Linked DNA regions of Homo sapiens: region 1 is linked to region 2. Evidence: promoter capture Hi-C in 16 types of primary human blood cells and fetal thymus (Javierre and others, 2016). All regions are on one chromosome and are shown on one strand. Each heading gives the region's core, a stretch centred on a gene start or on the middle of the fragment in contact. The rest is flanking DNA. Distances are from core to core; before and after follow the strand shown.

The links. The method cuts DNA at HindIII sites, captures the fragments that hold promoters and counts their contacts. A CHiCAGO score of 5 or more calls a contact.
Region 1: the fragment with the promoter of TAS2R41 here is called in contact with the fragment with the promoter of PIP in region 2 in 2 of 17 cell types (monocytes and neutrophils); the score reaches 7.7 in monocytes.

What each region holds. Positions count from the first base shown.
Region 1 is chr7:143,475,832-143,481,191 of GRCh38, reverse strand. It overlaps TAS2R41 (taste 2 receptor member 41), which reads right to left and starts at 3,319. Exons shown (of 1, transcript NM_176883.2): 1 at 2,396-3,319. The coding sequence starts at 3,319. The coding sequence ends at 2,396. The region is part of intron 2 of EPHA1-AS1 (EPHA1 antisense RNA 1); the gene reads right to left. The HindIII fragment of the contact is 17,498 bases long and covers 2,455-5,360 here.
Region 2 is chr7:143,129,311-143,134,368 of GRCh38, reverse strand. PIP (prolactin induced protein) reads right to left here and starts at 2,292. Exons shown (of 4, transcript NM_002652.3): 1 at 2,158-2,292. The coding sequence starts at 2,252. The HindIII fragment of the contact is 4,172 bases long and covers 337-4,508 here.

The DNA.
Region 1 (5,360 bases), core at 2,070-4,569, 350 kb before region 2:
TTTAAAACTAACATTAGAATTCAGAAAAAATAAAATAAAAAACACTGGGAGTAGGGAATTGCTTTGCTGCTTATATCACAAATAAAGAGCTAATTCCTCTAAGATATAAAGAGTTCCTCAAAACCAATAAGAAAAAGGCCAAAAGCCAAACCCAAAAAAGATAGACTGTCCACAGTAAATAAACATAAATGGCTCTAAACATATAAAATAATTATAAACACTCACTCATAGTAAGAGTCATGCAAATGACAGCTAATGTTTTTTAACCTAACAGGTTGGCAAAAACAGAAAGTGTGAAAAAAGTTCTCTAATAAATTGCTGGTGGGAAAGTAAATTGATGCAAACCAATAAAGGGTGATATCTGTCAGAATTAGAAATGCACATTCCATTCAACTCAGTAATTCCATTTCATGAGACTTTTCCCATAGTTAGTTTGCACATGTGGAAAATTACATATGCAGAAGATTATTCATTATAGCATTATTATAACAACAAAAAACAGGAAGTAACCTAAATGACCACAAACACATGGCTAGTTAAAGAAATTGTGGCACATCAGTGCAAAAAATTTTACAAGTGAGGAAATACTATGCATATCCACTTACATAGCTCTCCAAGATATGTTATAAGGTGAAAAGAGCAAGGGGCAGGACAATGTGTGTATTCTGCAACCATTGTATGGAAAGATGGAGACATTATAAGTTATTTGATTGGTAGCTAGTTAGGTACTAGTATAGAATATACCAGTGCATAAGTTAGTTGACTGGTTCATTAGGTATTAGTGGCTTTCTGATAGAATAAAATATCTCTACAAGGATAGACATAAAACTGGTAAGAATGCCTCAGGACGGAACAGATAAGAGGGAGATTTTCTATACATACTCTTCAATAGGTTTTGAATTTTCAGCCATGAAAATATATTAGGTATTTTTAAAAATAAATGCTTAAATTAAAAATGTAGAGCCAGGTGCCCAAAGATTATTGTTCATGAGTGTTCATCCACTCATCAGTACATCCCCTAATCAAAGTCTTCACTCTTAGAGGAAATTACAATTTCTCCCTATCAGGGATTCAGCTGCAAGCTTGTCTCTGAAATTTGCACATTGATGCCCTTTAGCAAAAACGTTTAAGCTATCTTAGAGGCACTCATCTCTAAATAAAATGTTTTCCAAAAGTATTTCTAAAATCATTTGCATAGTAATTGGAGCAAGTTATTTTTAAAACAGTATTTAAACGTAAAATTTTGAACAGGGTGGTTCTTTTTAAAACAATATTTAAGTAGTTTTTAGATACAAACTAATGAATTTTTTTTAAGACGGTCTCACTCTGTTGCCCAGGCTGGAGTACAGTGATCACAGCTCACCGCAGCCTCTATCTCCTGAGCTCAAGTGATCCTCCCACCTCAGACTCACGAGTAGCTGGGACCACAGGTGCACACCACCACACCTGGCTGATTTTTTTGAATTTTTAGTGGAGAGGAGGTCTCGCTATCTTGCCCAGGCTGCTCTTGAACTCCTGAGCTCGAGCAGTCTGCCTGACTCAGCTTCCCAAAGTGTTGGGATTACGGACGTCACCACTCCCAGTCCAGTGAAATTCCTGAGTCTGTTTTTCAGATTGAAAAGTACATGTTTATTCAATGCAGATGTGACTCTGTGACATATGCTTGAGGAAGACAAGAAAGTCACAATGTGTCTTTTTCTAAAGGAATGATAAACAAGAAAAAAGTCTGGCTACTACTCAGACTTCAGAGAAGAGAAAATTGAAGTCAGAAATGTTAATGAGAAAAGAAACTGGGTGGTGTAAAGAAACCTTCCAGTAAACTTAATAAAATTAAAACCAGATTATCCAAGTTTGTGTGGAGACAAAGTATCTTCATGCAGTAAAGGGCAATCAGAACTCACAGCCCAGGCCACTGCCTGCCACAACTGCCTGTCCCTTGGGGCTCTCGTAGTAACCATGACATTTGTCCTCAAGAAGGCTGTCGCTTCACTATCCACATCTCAGTTCAGCCATAGAGGCAAATATTTGCTCTTAACTTTCTGAAAGGCAGTGGAGATGCGATGGCACAGTTAATCAACACTTTTAATCGAAGCCTTCCAGATAACAAAGGGGTACAAACGTAAGGAGTAGCACGACATCATATTAACATATTCTGAACTTCTGGGCAATACTGGCTCTCTGGGATCCATGGGACTGCATCTTTATAACATTCCAAAGAAGGGAAGCATGCTCAGAGAGTTCCCAGATTTCCTTGTCTCCTCCGCTTCCCAGAGGAGGAGCCCCATAACAGTACCCAGTATTCATCTACCTATGAAAACACCTCCATGTCAGTGGGCCACAGCTCTGCCATCCTCACCTTTCTTTTCCGGGGGTCTAGATAAGGAAACCATGCCATCTAGGCCACCCAGAAGCCCCTTGCCAACAACAGGAGCTGCGAGAACACGCTTCGAAGCTTGAGGTTGCTGAAGATGAGGATGAAGGGATGGACAGATATGCACAGGTAGACTGCAATTTGCCATGGCCAGTAAAAGTCGTTCTGCATGGAGATAAATTTTGCGGCATCAATGATCAGGGACAGAAAGGACAGAGCATAAAGAATGAGGAAGGAGATGAGGGACTTCAGAGCTCTGGTGTGAGCCTGGGTGCTGGGGTCCTGCAGGCTGTGCCCGTTGTGCTGCATTCTCTGAGTATGCCTCCTCAGAGAATTAATTAACAGCATAATTGAGACCAGAAAAACAGAAAAAGGAATTGACCAGATGACCAGTTTCAGGGATGGGAAATAGTATGTTTCTATCCTTGTATTCCACTTGTAGGTCATGTTCCCAGAAAATTTTCTAATTAAAAATTCTTGATATACAGGGTAGTTCACCCAAAAAAACAGCAGGGTTATGATGAAGGAGATCAGGACAGAGCCCAACAGGAGCCAGGGCACCCACCCTGGGAACCTCCACTTCAGCCACAGGAAGGTGGAGTGTGTGATGTTAGCAATCTTCACACAGAACAGGACACTGAGCCAGCTGCAAAACCAGAAGGTGGCTGAGTTCAGGAAGTGCCAGTGTAGATGGAAGAACTGTCGGCCGAGACCCCCAGAGTACTCGACCTTCTGGGCAGAGTAGTAGAAGTTGTGCACCGTCCCAACCAACTGCAGGCAGAAGCGGGAGGCACCCAAGCTAATGAGGATCATATCCAAGGGCAGCAACCTGCCATATCGCAGCCACTCCCTGCCCAGCACCAGCACAATGAAGCCATTCGCTGCAATCCCCAGAAGACTCAGCAGGCTAAAGAGCAACACGAAGAAGGCCGTCAGTGCTGCTTGCATTCTGACCCCTCCTGCAGTCCCCACTTGAGTGCCTTGGTCCCTGGCCTCCTCCCTGCCCCTAGCCACAGTCCTGTTTTTAATCTTTCCTAGGAGTGCTAAAGAGTGGTCAGGCTCTGCATCTGAACCAGAGCTCACTTAGAGAGGAGGATGCTCAGGCTAAAGAGGAGAGGTGTGCTCTTGGCTCAGACAGGATGCAAATTTATCCTAGTGTCAGTTACCACTAGGCCTGCAAATTACCCTAATTTGCCTTGTCCAGTTTTCCTGCATGCTGCCATGGTTAGTATCAATGTCTATGATTTTTCTGGGTCTCTGTGACTGAGTTCCATCCTCAGGCCGTATGAACACTCCTCTTCCCATCAGAACATTCTTAAGACTTTAAATATAGAGACAAGTATAGGAGATACACAGGAAAAATAGTGACATCAAAGAATTCTGTCTCAGTACTTCCCTGTTACACATCCATGCTTACCTTACTGCCTTTGCCCACAAATCGCTTCAAAATCAAACACTTCGTCTACCTCTCCATCCAGATCTCTACTTAGATCCTCCATGAATCCTGAGATGTAAATGATAATGGTGTAAACGGGTTTTGTATTTCCAGTGAGAGAATTCATTATCATGTGGTTGAGGGGCCTTCCGAAGCAGGACTGAGAGCCCCTGTTTCTTCCTGGGTGTTGGTGGGAGACTGCTCTCTGGTCCTAGAGGCCTCTCACAGTCTCTGCCAGGTAAGCTGTTTCAGCATGGCCACTCACGTCAAGTCAGCAGTCTCTAAAGGGAGTCTGCTAACAAGATGGGGTCTTAAATAACATAACACAATCATTGGAGTGACAGCCTATCACCTTTGCCATAGTCTATTGGCTAGAAGCAAGTCACTGTCACCAACAACACTCAAAAGAAGGAGGTTACACAAAGGCCCAACACCAGGGTTGAGGGACAGGCAGGGCCACTTTACAGTCTGTCTGCCACCCTGAGATACCCGAGGCATATGTGAGTCCTGTCTAACACCAACATCAAAAAGAAGTCCCTATGAGACCATGTTGAAAGTAAAAATATTTTCTTTTAAAATATATCTATCACCTCACATAATTCCTGTTTTCAATTTCTTCATGTGTAGTGAGAACACTTAAGATCTACCCTCTCATGAAAGTTCAAGTATACAGTGCAGTATTGTTTACTATACTCATACTACCATACCTTAGGTTTCCAAAGCATGTTCACTTAGCATAACTGAAACTTCATACCCCTTGACCAATATCTCCCCATTTCCCCTTCCAGAACCCTGGCAACCACCAATCTACTCTCTACTTCTGTGGGTTTGTTTTTTCAGATTCCACATGTAAGTGAGATCGTACAATATATGTATTTCTGTCTCTGGAGCATTTCACATAGCATAATGTCCTCCAGTTCCATCTACGTTGTTGCAAATGGCAGAATCGCCTTTTCTAAGACTGAATCATATTCCATTGTGTATGCACACCACATTTTCTTTGTTCATTCATCTGTTAATGGGCTTTTAGATTGTTTCCATGTCTTGGCTATTGTGAATAATTTTCAATGAACATGGGAGTGCAGATATCTCTTCAAAATACTAGTTTCATTTCCTTTGCATATACACCTAAAAGTGGAATTACTGGATAAGGTAGGTCTGTTTTTAATTTTCTGAGAAATCTTTATAGTGTTTTCCATAATTTATATTCCTGTCAACAGACTGAAAGAGCTGCTTTTCTCTGTATTTTTGCCAACACTTGTTATCCTTCATCTTTTTGGTAACAGCCATTCTAACACATGTAAGATGATACCTCATTGTGGTTTTGATTTGCATTTCTCAGGTGATTTGTGATATTAAACATATTTTCATGAACGATTTTTGTCTTCTTTTGAGAGATGTTATTCAGGTCCTTTGCCCATTTTAAAATCAGGTTATTTATGTTTTTTGTTTATTTCTGCACTACAGTTGAATAAGTTCCTTGTATTTTTATTATTTGTATTTATTTATTTCAGACGGGGTCTCACTCTGCCACCCAGGCTGGAGCGCAGTGGC
Region 2 (5,058 bases), core at 1,043-3,542:
ACCCAGAGGAAAAGAAGTCATTATTCAAAAAAGATACTTGCACACACATGTTTATAGCAGCACAATTCACAATTATAAAACTGTGGAACCAACCCAAATGCCCATCAATCAACGAGTGGATAAAGAAACTGTGGTATATATATATATATATATATATATATATATATATATATATATATATATATGATGGAATACTACTACTCAGCCATAATAAGGAATGAATTAACAGCATTTGCAGTGACCTGTATGAGATTGGAGACTATTATTCTAAGTGAAGTAACTCAGTAATGGAAAACCAAACATCGTATGTTCTCACTGATATGTGGGAGCTAAGCTTTGAGGACTCAAAAGCATAAGAATGATACAATGGACTTTGGGGACTTGCGGGGAAGAGTGGGAGAGGGGTGAGGGCTAAAAGACTACAAATATGGTGCAGTGTATACTGCTCGGGTGATGGGTGCACCAAAATCTCATCACCACTAAAGAACTTACTCATGTAACCAAATACCACTTGTACCCCAGTAACTTATGGAAAAATAAAATAAAATAATAAAAAATTTTAAAAACCCAGCAAACATCTCAATGCACTGGAGGTATTTGTAGGAGCATCTTTGAAGATCCTCCTTCTGTGGTCCCCAGGTAGGGTTTAGGAATTTGTATTTATTTAGCTCCTTAGGAAATTTGGACATATGGCCATGTTTGGGAACTTTAGATACTACTCTACATTTAGACCATACACTGCAATCTGAAAAGGAAAGGAAATGGAGACAAATAAAATGGTCAAATGTTCTTCTTCAGTCAATGAGGACTGGGTTCGGGGCCAGGAGAGTTATTTTCTCGTCCCTAGAAACTCCCGGCTACGGACCTTTGTTATTGTGTGGGACAGAAGGGAATTGAGATTCTTAGCCCACAGTGTCTCACAGCCCCATTTTCTTGGGGCAAAGCATCTTAGAGAGATTCTATTTTTTGGTGCCAACTGCTGTAGTGCCCAGTGCACAGGAAAAGGGTATAAATACCTAAGCAACTTCAAAATCTCTCCCATTTGTATATGAGTTTCAGATTGATAGGATGACCAGCTTAGTTCGAGTGACTAACCATCTCAGTTTACCCAGGACTGAGGTCTTTTCCAGAATGGGTTGTGGAGGTGGCGGGGGAGGGCAGAGTTGCAGTGCTACAACCAGGAAAGTTCTGGGCAAATCAGGATGGATGGTTGATAACCTAATTAGCATAGCTTATTTGAATACCTTGCTGCCCTTCAGGGCTAAGTGGACTGTCATCTGGCGGGAATGGGGTGGGATCTGAACCTGTCCCCATGCAGGGTTTCTTGGGACACTTGCCTCCATTACATTAGCTTGTCAAAACCCTGAACAGTTTCCTCCAGGACAGGATATCTGACCATGCCATAGAGAGTACCTCCAAGATCACAACCCAGAAACCCAGCATTATAAACCCTACTGCTATAGAGAAAACTCCCTAGATTGGGTATCGCTGCTTTCTCCCAGACCCTTGGCTCCATTTTCTACTTTATTTTACTTGCTCCAATTTTTCTGCTTCCTTCACACATGTGTTCTCAATAAGTTGACTTCTGAACCTGTGCTCTCAGGTCCCAGTATACGTGAGAGCAAGAGGTCATCATATTCATCTTCAGACTTCAGGTTAGGAAGAATGTCTAAGCTGCCAGTCTAGCTCAATCTCAGACCACAGGGCAGTGGCCAGGGCCTCTGGTCCTTTAGCCAGTCCTGCCAAAGCTGCCCTAAGCTGCCATTGGAATTCACAGACCTGTTATGCTTCTCTTCTAGGAGGCAAGGTGTGAGAAGGTAAAGTTTACTGAGCAGAAATCTGAACAAAGGTATAAATTATGAACAAGATGTGGATCAGCATGTTAGATGAAGACTAACTACTAATTACAGCCTGTAGGTACATTTGGAGCTTTATTTCCACTGGCAATGCAGAAACACCCAGCAAAAATGTGAGAGGAGTTGGTGGGGCTTCCTAAGAGGACAAGAAGTGGAACCTGGCAGGAGATCCATGGGAGCTCCTGGGACTAGAGTTCTGGGAAGTTGAAAGAAATTCTCAGAAAGAGATATGTAATTTCCAGACTGGGAGAGGAGCCCTCCCTGCAATTTTTTTTGTGGGGAGGAGAAGGGCATGGCTCACGTGTTGTCCTGAGCTTTGTTGGCCCCCAACTGCAGGCAGAGAACCAGGAGCAGGGTGGCAGGGCTGGCCCTGAACAGGAGCTGGAGCAAGCGCATGCTGGAGAAAACAGAAGGCAATGTGTCCCAGAGAAGTGGTGTCCCAGGTGCCCAGCACATTTCTTATATACAGATTGATCAAGGAAGTGCAAGAGCTGCCAGGGAGATCCATGAGGTGAATCACCCATTCACCCTCCCCACTCGTGATCTTTCCTTGTTGACCCAAAGTTTGTTTTTCTAAGAAAAAATCAACACTCAGCTAGAATGTCAGCGTTTGAGAGAGGAGTCAGATTGTTCTTCCTTATTTTTTCAGCATCAGAGTTTCTCAAAATGGCTGGGACCTCAAAAGATACACCAGTTTTTCCCGAGTTTACAGATTCAGTTTTCTTTTCCCTCCTAATTTGCCTGTCTGAAGTGCTATGTGTAGTCTTAGCTTCAGTCACTGCTCCCCTGGTCTCTGAAAGCAGAGAACACAGCTGTGGTGGCAGGTTTCAGACCAGAGACATAGAACATCTTTGCTTGATCAAATTATAGTGAGTTCAAGATGCAATGCTATTCAAAACATTTCTTGGAGGGCTAGGATGATCAGGACTTCCCTAGCAGTCACTACCCATCATGAGGTGGAAGAGCTAGAGAAGACCTGAGCTGCTCTACATGATGGGGAAGTGAGTTCAAGACACTGGGTGATGTAAAGATGTTTATTGTCATTGAGTCCTTCTTAATTTCAGGTGTGGTTGCAATATACTGCAGATGTCCAAGATCCCCAGCTGCCCCACAATCCCCAAGGCAGGGTGATATTTTAATTCTAGACAATTCCTATAAATAGCTGGCACCCCCAAATCAGACTTCTTGGCACCAAAGAGCTGGCTTATTTTCTTATTGACATGGCCACTTTCTTACACTTGTCTCATGCGTAAGCCACACAGGAAGAACCACAGTGGAAAGGATTCCTTCTGTGAGAATGGAGCCCACATTATGTCCAGTAGATACCCAGGTTGTAGAATTCCTCTCCTTGGGATGATGGGGAGACTTGCTCTTGCTGACACTGGCATTGTGTTATTTCTCCTTATGAAATTAAATCTGCTCCTTAACCTATGACTTACAATACTATGGGATTTGTTTCTATCATTTGCATGGCACACAGCTGCCCAGGAAGAGCCTCTCTGGCAACAGAGTGAAAATCAGAGTTCTAGGAGTTACCGCCTCTGTATGTTGCTTTAGCCAGGATTCAGAGCTAAAGTGTAAGTGTGTGCTTCTGCTTTCTGGATGTATCTCTCAAAATTGCTCTGTCTGTTTATTCAGCTCCTGGATCTACCTTCTCTTTTCTTTGAATTGGACACCATTCATGTCATTGCTCACTCAGAACTTCAGCTGTTCTCATGATCACATGCTTTCTTCCCTGTTTATGTCCTATCCACTCAAGAACACTGCTTGTGAGGGTCACAATGACCTTCCTTTGTAAGCCTTTTCCCACAATTAAATTGTCTTTACACCTGGTCCTTCTCACTTGCATAATTTCCATTTGAAGCACATCCTAGCTACACTGACCAAGGCAGGCATAAGGCAGAAGAATCTAGGAAGTGTCTGTGTGGGAAAATGCAGGAAAAGTTCTTTGCTTGGCTCTTTGAAGGCATAGCCCTGTCCTTGAGGATGCAACTCCAGCACTCCCAAAAGGCAGTGTCCAGAGGAAGGCAGATGACGATGGGTTAAGAGCATCTATTGAAGGTAATGAGGCTGTTCTTCTGTGAGCTAGCAGGAAACTGCAATACCTACAATGTACAGGACAATCTTTTTTTTTTGAGACAGAATCTCACTCATCCAGGCTGGAGTGCAGTGGCATGATCTCAGCTCACTGCAGCCTCCACCTCCCGGGTTCAGGAAATTCTCATGCCTCAGCCACCCGAGTAGTGGGGATTATAGGCAGGTGCCACCATACCCGGCTAATTTTTGTATTTTTGGTAGAGATGGGGTTTCACCATGTTGGCCAAGCTGATCTTACATTCCTGACCTCAAGTGATCCACCTGCCTCGGCCTCCCAAATTGCTGGGATTACAGGTGTGAGCCACTGTGCCTGGCCTAGGACAAGTCTTATTCAGGCCATGACTGCTGTGATGGTTACTTTTATTTGTTAGCTTAGCTAGGCATGGTGCCCACTTTTTGGAAAAACAACAGTTTAGAAGTTGCTGTGAAGTTGTTGTTTGTTTGTTTGTTTTAAATGTGATTAACATTTAAATCAGTAAAATTTGAGTAAAACAGATTACCTCCATAATATGGGTCAGACTCATTGGATCAGTTGAAAGTCTTAAGAGAAAAGCTTGAGGTCCCTTGAGGAAGAAGATTAGGGAGAAAAAGAAACCATAATTATTATGCCATAAAGAATGAACAAGTCTAGGTTTAAGAAATCAGATAAAGGTTGATAAAATCAGATTGTAAACAACTCAGGAAGCTTACAGAAGAGAATGTGTATAGTCCCATAGGGAAAGAGTTAGAATATAGGTGAGGCTTGCCACAGGCTAAGTTTACAAAGAGAAAGATAATCTTAGTCCTGACAGGGCTCATGAGAAGAAGATAAGGAGTGGACAGAGAGGGAGTTATAGACACCAACACACATGAAGCATATGCTGTGTGCATTACACTGCTCTAAACATTTTAACATATATTAGCTCAATCTTTATTACAACCCTGTGAAGGTGGTTGCCATTTTTATTCCATTTTACAAGAGGAGAAACAGAGACCCAGGAGATAAATATCTAACCCAGACCATATAGCCAGTATATGGCAGAGTCAACTTTGCAAGCAGGTTTTGTGGAATCTGAGTTTTGATTTACAGTATCTGAGAACCTCTTTTTGAAATAGAATCCAAACT